2 separate regions of the Homo sapiens genome follow, and region 2 is linked to region 1. Evidence: promoter capture Hi-C in human tissues and cell types (Jung and others, 2019). All regions are on one chromosome and are shown on one strand. Each heading gives the region's core, a stretch centred on a gene start or on the middle of the fragment in contact. The rest is flanking DNA. Distances are from core to core; before and after follow the strand shown. Region 1 holds the start of PTP4A3 (protein tyrosine phosphatase 4A3). Region 2 overlaps DENND3 (DENN domain containing 3).

Region 1 (4,875 bases), core at 189-2,688:
GGTGACCAGCTCCCTAGCGGGGCTATTTGGAAACAGCCCAGGAATTCCTACACAGGGCAGCTTCTCCTCCTTCGTAACCACAGTGAGGGGGGCCGGCGTGGTGATGGGGAGATCCCCAATGCCTAATTCCACTCAGGTGACAGGTTCGGGGCCCATTTACAGCAGCTCCAACGCCCCCTTTGCAGATGGGGACAACAAGGCTCTGCTTAGCCCCGCAGGCTAGGGGCTGCACCAACTCCACCTTTGTGGGCCTCAGTCTCCTCATCTGAGAAATGGGGTTAACGAACTTCTTGGGAGGATTGCAGGAACTCAGTGAAGCACGGCTCTGCACAGGGCTGCCAGGCGGCTTCTGTCTGTGCAAGGCCACAGGCACCCTGTGTTCAGTGACCTCCTCTGGTCTGCAGCCGAGGACACTGCTCCAACCTGGGAGCAGGGCCCCCAGGGTCCACAGACTAGGTGGATGCCCAACACCCACCATCGTGTGCGGGGCACACCCCAGAGCCCGCAGGCAGAGAGAGGGGGTGCAGCACGTGCCTTTCTGTCTTGGCTGAGGGTGCCCGGGCACACACTGTGACCAGCTAGCCTGGACCTCACGCTGCCCTTGGAGCCGCTATCACAGAGGGCCAGGGAAGCCTCCCTCATAAAGGGCTTCCCTCCGGGAACCGGCAGGGTGAAACTGCTCTGCCCACTTGGAGCTAAGCATGCCACCACCCCACCCCTGGGCCACCAGCTGCCCAGGGGCGTGTCAGGAGTCACCCGTTTAATCCCTGAGGCACGTGGATCAAGGCTGCTGACCTGATTCTACCGGGGTGTGCTTGGAGGGCTGAGGCGCCGCCCGAGTCCCAACACTGGTATGGTCTGAGGCGGACTCCACCCGGCCTGAGACCTGACGCTCTGCTTTCCCCTGACCTCCACTGACATCTACGACCCGCCCTGGAGGCACGGAAGGCTGTGGGGTTCCAGCCCCCCAAACTGTGCAGCTGAGGAAAATGAGCCGTGAATGGGGGCAGAGCCAGATCCTGGGCGGGACCCTGCGCAGGATGAACTCAGGGTAGGAGGTCTCCCGCGCACCCAGAAACGGGAGCGGGTCACCCCCTTCCAGCCAGGGGTGTTCTGTGGCTCGCCTGGGGAAACAGCGGCCTCCTGAGGCTCGGCCCCGGCACGTGGCAGCCTCCAGGCCCACGTTCCCGCCGGATCGGCCGCCAGGCGCAGGGTCCCGGGACGCGCGGGCAGGGGGAAGGCGGCGGCCCTCCCGGCTGCGCGGCCCCGAAGCCGTGCCCGGAGCGGGCGGCGGGCTCGCGCGCGGACGGCCCCCCACGCGCCTCCACAAAGCGCCGCGCGCCCCCGCCCCGAGCGGGCGCGGAGGAGACTGACCTGGCGGTCCGGGCGGCGCCGGCACGACGGGTGGAGGGCTCGGGACGCGCGCGCCCTCGCGCACAGGCGCGGCCGCGGCTCCACCGGCTTAGGGCGCGCGCCGGACCCGCTGGGTCACGTGGGGGCACGGCCCAATGGGAGCGCTCCCCACGCCGCGGCCGCGCGCCCGCCGCCCCCGAGGCCGCCCCTGGGCTGGGAGGAGGCGGCTCCGGTCGCGCGGGCGGCCTCGGGGACTGACCTTGGCTCCTGTGCCTGCCGGGCGCCTAGGCCAGGTCGGCCTGGGGCAGGCGGGCGTCGGAGGGGCAGTTTTGAAGCCCGAGCGAAGAGGCAGAGGGCGGGATGCGGACGAAGCCAGGGAGTTCACGAAACTTCTGGAGTTCTCAGTTTCCCCCTAAGTCGACTGGGGCTAGGTCCCGTGCCGCCAGGCGGGCTGGCTGAGGGGATGGGCTGGGGCGACAAGACGGCAGCCGCCTGGCCCGGGTACTTGGGGTCAGACCGGCTTCGAGGCCCCCGGACCGCCGTGTTATCAGGACGGGTAGGGAGCCCACGGGACGCGTGGTGCTCAGAAGAGCGGGGAGGCGTGTGGACGGGGCCTGCCCGAGCTGCACCACCGCCTGCCTCCAGGCTGCGAGGCCCGCCCAGGCGAAGGCGGCATCTCAGCCTCTAGCCCTTGGGGACCTTGAGGACGTCCTCTTATGGGTCAGCCGTTCCTAGGGAGGCTTGTGGCTCCAGTTACTGGAAAAACCAGTGCTGGTTCACGCAGGAGGCCCCAGTACAGGGGGAAACAGAGGCAAGCTGGGGTCTCCCAGGCGGCCTCACCCACCCAGCCCTGTTCCATGCCAGTCCCTGGACCCTTGGCCCAGTCAGATGTTCAACTGCTCCAGCCCTGCCTCCACTTCCCTGAAAGATGCTTTTCCACCCATCCACCCTCAGCAGCCAGAGGGACCCCGGGAAGATGGGAGTGAGAGCTGCCTTCGTCTGCAAAAGTCTCCAGACACCACCTCACTGGTGAAGGCCAGAGACCCTAAACTGTCCCAAGACCACCTGACTGGGCTGCCTCCCTGCCACCTGGCTGCCAGCCTCTCTCAGAGCGCCTGCAAGCTATTCCTCCAACCCAGAGTTTCCTTCCCAGCTAAAGGCCTTTGCACCTGCTGTTCCTTCTGCCTGGAAGTTCACCGCAGACTATCCCAGGGCCTCCATCCTTCCCATTGCATGGTCCCCATCAGCTGCCGCCGCCTCTGAGAGCTCAGTCTCCACTGGCCATCCTGTCTCTCAGCCCACTGCACTCTCCACTCTGCCAGAAAGTCCCCCAATCAGTGACAACACAGGTCACGGTCCACACCTCACCTGGTTTGTCCCCAGTGCCCAGCATCTGGCACCGAGCAGGTGCGTGCAAATCCTGGACAGGTGGGCAAGCTGATGGTGTCCAGAGGCCCCTGGTCCTTAAGGGCAGGGGTGGGGATGGCTCAGAGGACATAACCTTGCAGACCCGGGTTCAAATCTGGGCTCCTCAGCTCATTTGGTCCTCACACAGCCCATGTTGGGAGAGCTAGTGTTCTCCCTGTTTTGCTGATGAGACACAGAGAAGGTCAGCAACTCCCGAAGATTGCCCAGCAAGTTGGGAGTAAAGCTGGTGCAATTCCCACGTTTAGCTGCTAAACAGGGTGTCCTGTACTTGGTGTGTTCAAGCAGAAATCCACACATGGGAAGGTCAAGGCAACATCCCTGGTACTCCAGCTTTGAGGTCCTAGGAAAAAGGGAACCTCCCATTAAATGCTTCTATTGCCGGGAAGTTCAGCACCTGTAAAAGCAGCCCCTTCCCGTTTCACTGTGGCTGCATTTTAATTCTTATTTTTTAAATGTTTAGCTTAAGGCCGGGCACAGTGACTCACACTATAATCCCAGCAATTTGGGAGGCTGAGGCGGGAGGATCACTTGAGCCTAGGAATTCAAGACCAGCCTAGGTAACATAGTGGGACCCTATCTCTACAAAAAATAAAAAATTAGCCAGTCATGGTGGCATGCTCCTATAGTCCCAGCTTGGAGATTGAGGTGGGAGGATCACCTGAGCCTAAGAGGACAAGGCTAGAGTAAGCCCTGATCCCGCCAGCACCCCAGCCTAAGTGAAAGAGCGAGAGCCTGTCTCAAAAAAGATAAAAAAAAAAAAAGCATTAATAAATAAATGTTTGGCTTCATCTAGCCTGAGCAGCACCAACACCCCCTGCCTGTTTCATGCTATTTTCCTCCTCTCCTGCCCAAAATCTCAGAGAGGTTTCTATCCCAGCCACCCAAATTTGCTGGGGTGAGTGGGCTCCCGAGAGGCTGGAGCCTCCTTCCTCCCCACGCTCTTACCATCCTGCAGGGAGTCGGGAGCAAAGGAGGAGGCTCCTCCATGCTGGATTCATTTCAGTTCTCAGACATTCACCGAGTGCTGACCACATGCCAGGGACTTACACCCACCCACCAAGTCCACACTGAGCCCTGCAGAGGAATCCCTGACACCCCCATTTTGCAGATTAGGAAGCAGAAGCTAAGCGAAAGCAGAATCAAGATTCAAACCCAGGCACGGTGAAACCAGAGCTGTCCAACTGCTGTGAGTGGAATGGGCCGGGCATGAACAGGCTTGGGGAGAATCCTGGGATTTCATAGCCGGAAGAGAGCTCAAAGTGATCGTGTTTTACAGAGGAGAAAACGGGGCCTCAGAGATGATGGCTGAGCCGTGAAAAGGTGGGGTCAGAAGCCAGGCCCAGTCTCCTGAATTCCAGACTCCAGAATCTCCCCCAGGATTGAGGAATGTTCCACAGAAAGAATCCCAGCTCCACCTACCCCAGTCACTGGACCTGCCCAGCCCTGGAGGCATGGCCAGGAGGAGGCCCCCGCAGGTGGGGGATTGTTGGAGAGGGATGCCAACCATGCAGGACGATCTAGACAGTGGTGAGGCCCACTGGGGCTGGCAGGATTAGCAGATTAGCTCCAAGGAGGACAAAGACGAGGTCAGCGTTAAGTGGATTTCTGGAAAGCCTCCTCCAGCCCAGCAGGGCCCTACAGGAGGGGCCCAGGCTGGGGGACCTAGATCCAGCCACGGAGGGCATGGGTGGGCTAATGGCACCAGCAGCAGCTCTTGAGCCCCCATCACTGGGCTGCACACTTTGACCTCTCCTGGCCTCAGTTTCCCCATCTATAAATGTCATAGTAATAGCTCCAACCTCACAGGGCTCTTGGGAAGACCCACAAGATGGTGGCTGTCAAGTGCTGCGTTGCTTCTGCCTGCGCAGAAGTAGATGTCTTTATGACTGTCCTTTTGAATCCTCCTCAAGCCCTGAGCGTCAAACAAAATAAAAAAGAGCTTGTTGTTCAGTGGTTAGTTAGGTAAACAGGAGCGGGGTGCAGGAGTATACATCTAGGAAGAGAGTAAGTGTGCGGAACGATGCTCTCTGGGCCACTTCACGTCCCCTCTGTTCCCTGATTTCAGTGGCAGTGGCCCATTCTGAGCGAGCTTGG
Region 2 (5,263 bases), core at 2,323-4,822, 210 kb after region 1:
AGCCATGACATGACCATGAACTGAAATGGAACCTCGTCAGCGGTCCCCGTTCACACAAGGGACCAGGGAGCCAGCACGATCCTCAGAGCTCTCGGGTGACATGGGCTGGCTGCAGGTGCAGGCGGCTGTGGGCGGGGCTGGGCTCGAGCCTGCACCCTGCGCCACCCCTGAACCTCCTGAGCCAGCTTTGCTTCCAGACTAGCACCTCCCTACCCACCCCAACAGGGCCTGACACAGGCGCCCCCGACACTAAGTCAGGGGAAAAAGGAGTGGGGAGTGTGGCCCCTCACCCAGGGCTGGGGCTGCCTGGACCAAGTGGGCAGCCTTGTGCACTTTCCCCACCATGAGCCTCTGCTCAAGGAGACCCCACCTCCTCCTCCCGTCTCCCTGGATGCCCCGTGTCCAGTGCTGCTCCCACTGTGGGAAACAGCAGCGAACAGGCAGCCCAAGGCCAACACTGAGCACTCAGGCGATTATCAGGCGAGTCCAGGCTTCTGACACCATGGCTGGTGCACCTCTGGGAGGCTGTGCCCTCTCGGGGCTGCCCCATGCCACAGTGCCCACAGCAAGCTCAGCAGGAAGGCCGGGTGTGGTGCCTTCATCACCACGCTTGGCCCACACTGGTGTCATGGGTTCTCCGCACCCGTGAGCAGAAGCAGACCGAGGACACCACCCAGCTTTCCTCGTTCTAGATCCACTTCACTCTGTACGCCCCGCCTGGCCCCTGTGGGCACAAGACTTGGGAACCCTACCCGCTGTGCCTTCTGCCCACCCACAAGCCAAACAGTCCCTTCTCCCCAGCAGAGCTTACTGCACCTGGGTGCCTCCTGTCCGTCCTGCACAATCAAATCCGTGACACTGGAGCAGTGGGCTGTGAGCTGCTTGTTGCAGGACATGCTGTGGACGTTGATGATGTAGATGACGGAGTCTTCCGAGCCAACCCACACCTGGTTCTGGTCGGCCATCACCATGCAGTTCTAACAGGAGGCCACGGGAACGTGAGAAATCAGTCAGTCTCGATACTGGTGAAGTCATATTCTATACATTTACTGCACGTGCTGAATTAGCGGATATGGAACCACTGCTCCTAGGGGACACGCCGGCTCAGGGTCCTGGGAGCCTCTGGCCCTGACGTTGTCATCCACCCATCAGTGCATAACCTTGTTCTCCGCGTGCTCTGTTCACAGACACCTTATTGACTACGTATGATTGATTCATTAACACGAAACCCACGGCCGCCAGCACTGTCACTGCGGCCTGAACCAAGCTCATCTCACACATGCATTTTCTCTGCAAGACACGTCACCGCCTCCTTGTGCTTAGGGAGCTCCATGCTTGAGGCTTTCTTAAATGGCAAAATCACCAACGAAAAGCAAAAAATGTGAAAACTGTGGCACCAATCAGGCCGAGGAGAGGACACTTGTTGGCCCAGAAAATCCATATCAGGTGACTCAAGTTTTTCCCCCGTCTGTGCACGTGGATGTCTGTGGATCACCAAGAAAATACCACGAGTATCTGTTTTGGGAGTTACAAGTAAATATTAGCAGGTGGTCGAATTTGCAAATACGGAATCTCCAAATGATGAGACCGACTGTATGTGAACAAGCAGAACTGGCAGTGCTCCCAGTGTCTAGAGAGTGCGCTCAGGGTTTCTGTCTAAGCTAAGCAAAGTCAACATAATGATTGCTTTTAGACTCTTTGAAATCAGAATTTTTATTTTTGTTTGTTTGTTTATTTTGAGACAGAGTCTCACTCTGCCACCCAGGCTGGAGTGCAGTGGCATGATCATGGCTCACTGCAGCCTCAGCCTCCCGGCTCAAGCGATTCTCCCGCTTCAGACCCCCGAGTAGCCGGGACTACAGCCATGGGCCACCACGCCTGGCTGATGCCACCACGCCTGGCTGATGCCACCACGCCTGGCTGATGTTTGGCAGTTTTAGTAGAGATAGGGTTTCCCCACGTTGCCCAGGCTGGTCTCGAACTCCTAGACTCAAGCAATCCTCCTGCTTCGGCCCCCCAAAGTGCTGGGATTACAGGCGTGAGCCACTGCGCCCAGCCTTGAAATGCTTATAACTAAGAACGAACTGAAAAAAATTAAATTTAGAAAAATAATTTCCCTAATTTTTCCTTTTTTTGTTGTTTGGTTTAAAGCATTACTAGACTTTTGTCAATATTTTTACTGTATCATGGATCCTATTACTTTATCATCTGAGGCTCATGATTTGAATATGGGGGGAAATGATTTAGCAGGCTCTTATTACCTTCTAACATGTAAAGTTTGCTATTCAGGTATCTCAAGAGTGGTCCCACCCTCTTGGTGGTATGTATTTGAGTTCACAGTATTTGTTTTATAGCAGTTTTGCAAGCACATACTGTGCCACGGATTTTCCCACATTATTTTTAGACAAGGGAACACAGCCATCAAAACTGATACCATGGCCGGGCGCAGTGGCTCACACCTGTAATCCCAGCACTTTGGCGGGGCCGAGGCGGGAGGACTGCTTGAGCCCAGGAGTTTGAGACCAGCCTGAGCAGCACGGTGAAACCCCATCTCTACTCAAAATACAAAAATTAGCCGGGTGTGGTGGTGCGCACCTATATAGCCCCAGCTACTCGGGAGGTCCAGGCTGCAGTAAGCAGCGATTGTGCCACTACACTCCAGCCACGGGCAATGGGAGAGGGACCCTGTCAAAAAAAAAAAAATGGTACCAGCCAATGCCTAATATATACTTAGGTATATACTCCACTGGAGTGTTCTTTTCACATTAAACATGTAAAAAAAAAAAAATCCTATCATGCTCAAGGAGTAAGGCATGAGGATTTCTCAGCAGATCCCATGATGGGGTGGCTGCTTGGAGGGTGACCAGATAGGAGGAGAGTGTAGATGCGAAAATATTTTGAAAACTATAAAATGCAATTTAAATGTGAACGTCATCTGCAAATCCATGAGCAAGAACAGGAGAAACATGGACAAAGGGCGCGCAGGCCACGGTGCGGGGGAGTGTGGGGTCTCAGAGCACGGGGAGCTACTCAGCGGCCTCTCGGGCGACAGGGAAGCGCACACAGATCCGCAGGGAGGGGCAGCTCACAGCGCTGACGGGCAAACAGGGAAAATCCCCAAGAAATGATGGTCTGCAGGCAGGAGGGGCCGCTGGGGGCCTGGAGGGATGAGCAGGGCAGGAATCCCAGCTTCCACACTCAAGATACCATGGTCATGGAAGAAGCGACACACCATGGCACTGCCAAGGACACACTACTAAAAATGTATTAACAGTTGCACTTGTTTTAAAATTATCAGAAACAATTCAAACTTGCTTTAAATCAGGGGTGTGCACTCTTGTGGCTTCCCTGAGCCACAGTGGAAGAAGAATTGTCTTGGGCCACACATAAAATACACTAACATTAACGATCGCTGATGAGCTAGAAGGAAAAAGATTGCAAAAAAAACTCAACATATGTTTTAAGAAAGTTTACAAATTTGTGTTGGGCCTCATTCAAAGCCGTCCTGGGCCACGTACAGCCTGCAGGCCACAGGTTGGACAAGCTTGCTCTAAGTGAGAGGAATAATGTGTGACGAGTGGACACTGAGTTTTGCTGGGCCCTGGTCTCTGCCACCTGGCACGTGGGGACAGGTGGATAACACTGAAGTCACTGCAGAGGCAGCTGTCTCCTCTTTTGCTCCAAAAGAGACCCAGTAACCACTGTGCCACCAGGAAACACCAGGGTTCCCAGGAAACACTGCAGGTTCATTTTAAGGCCCTGGTCCCTGGGAACCTTAGTGCTGCAGTACAGGATGGAAGACATCGTTCCCAGCCTGGGCAGCGTGGCAAAACCTCATCTCTACAAAAAATACAAAATTAGCCAGGCATGGTAGCATGCACCTGTAGTCCCAGTTACTCAGGAGACCGAGGTGGATCCCTTGAGCCCAGAAGGTCGAGGCTGCAGTGAGCCATGACTGAACCACTGCACTCCAGCCTGGGCAACAGAGCAAGACCCTGTCTCAAAAAAGAAAAAAAAGAAGGAAATTGTTCCCAAAGTGTGTGAAGCCTGTAATAAGCAGGCAGAGACCACAATGGCTCCACTTCACAGAACTGACGTCGATTTTTATTATTTTATTATTATTATTATTTGTCTGTTTGAGACAGGGTATGGCTCTGTCACCCAGGCTGGAGTGCAGTGGCGCGATCTTGGCTCACTGCAGCCTCGACCTCCCAGGCTCAGCGATCCTACCACCTCAGCTTCCCAAGTAACTGGGACTACAGGCACGCTCCACCATGCCCGGCTAATTTTTGTAGTTTTTGTAGAGATGGGGTCTCACTCTGTTGCCCAGGCTGGTCTCAAACTCCTGGGCTCAAGGCAATCCACCCACCTCAGCCTCCCAAAGTGCTGAGATTAGAGGTGTGAGCCCCTGCAATCTATTTTTAGATGGGGGCCTGAAATCTGTTTTTAGATGAGAAAGTCAAAGCCATTATCTTCTCCTTCAATAAGGACGTGTAAGTAGAAGTTTGGAACAAGCTTACATTTAATTTGAAAACTCCAGGTGAAAGTTAAGACCCCCTGTTTACAGAAACCGAGTGAGGCTGTGGAATAGCTTGTATCCTACTGTCGAATATGGATGAACACACTTGGGTTTCAGAAATCACGTGAATTCAGAGGCTTCTTTCCTGACGCTTCGTGTACTCACCACTTTTGCAGTGCCCACTTTAAAGGAGTGCTGGTGGATGGTCCATGAAGAAGCATTGAACACGGTCACCTTGCCTTCGCTCAGAGCACACCATAACTTGGGGTGAGCATCTTCAACTTTTTCGGCTGGGTCAAGATGCCCTAAAGAGGAGAGCAGCACAAAACTGTTAGGAGGAAACACTTCTGCTGTAGCAGCAGGTGACTGGTGCCCTTACTCAGGTGCCTCCTGGGCCCTCCTAAGCGCCAGGCCCATGTTAGGTGCTGTACGTACAAAGACGTGCCCAGGCAGAGGCTTCCCTGCCCTCTGGGAGCTCAGAGTCAAGGGGGGCAGCTGGCTGGTGAGAGGGCCACAAAGACAGGGTCAGAGCCGCAGGCAGATGCAGAGCCGAATGCCTGTGAGCTTTGCTAAGCCAGGACCTGCCAGCTGAGTGAGCATTCACTAGAGGAAACAGCCAGGCAGAGGGAACTGGAAGAGGAGCAGGTGGACACAGAGGGAGGGAGGCAGGGAGGGAGGGCAGCTGGAGAGACGGCGGCAGGGGCCATGGTGCCCCCCACACCCTCATGTGCAGCGGGCTCCGCG

Evidence for each region. The method cuts DNA at HindIII sites, captures the fragments that hold promoters and counts their contacts. A contact is called where the count stands out against the background at its distance.
Region 2: a fragment that was not itself captured here is called in contact with the fragment with the promoter of PTP4A3 in region 1 in 1 of the 25 tissues and cell types used here (H1 embryonic stem cells).

What each region holds. Positions count from the first base shown.
Region 1 is chr8:141,388,584-141,393,458 of GRCh38, reverse strand. It overlaps PTP4A3 (protein tyrosine phosphatase 4A3), which reads right to left and starts at 1,438. Exons shown (of 6, transcript NM_032611.3): 1 at 1,375-1,438. ASTILCS (antisense transcript of PTP4A3, liver carcinoma survival associated) reads left to right here and starts at 838. Exons shown (of 2, transcript NR_187488.1): 1 at 838-1,051; 2 at 2,308-3,591. RefSeq lists an enhancer at 1,746-2,366. The HindIII fragment of the contact is 9,767 bases long and covers 1-4,875 here.
Region 2 is chr8:141,184,700-141,189,962 of GRCh38, reverse strand. It overlaps DENND3 (DENN domain containing 3), which reads right to left. Exons shown (of 23, transcript NM_001352890.3): 18 at 4,685-4,824; 19 at 817-977. Among named protein-coding and RNA genes, the nearest start is that of DENND3-AS1, 57 kb to the right of the region's middle. RefSeq lists an enhancer at 4,607-5,263. The HindIII fragment of the contact is 5,635 bases long and covers 755-5,263 here.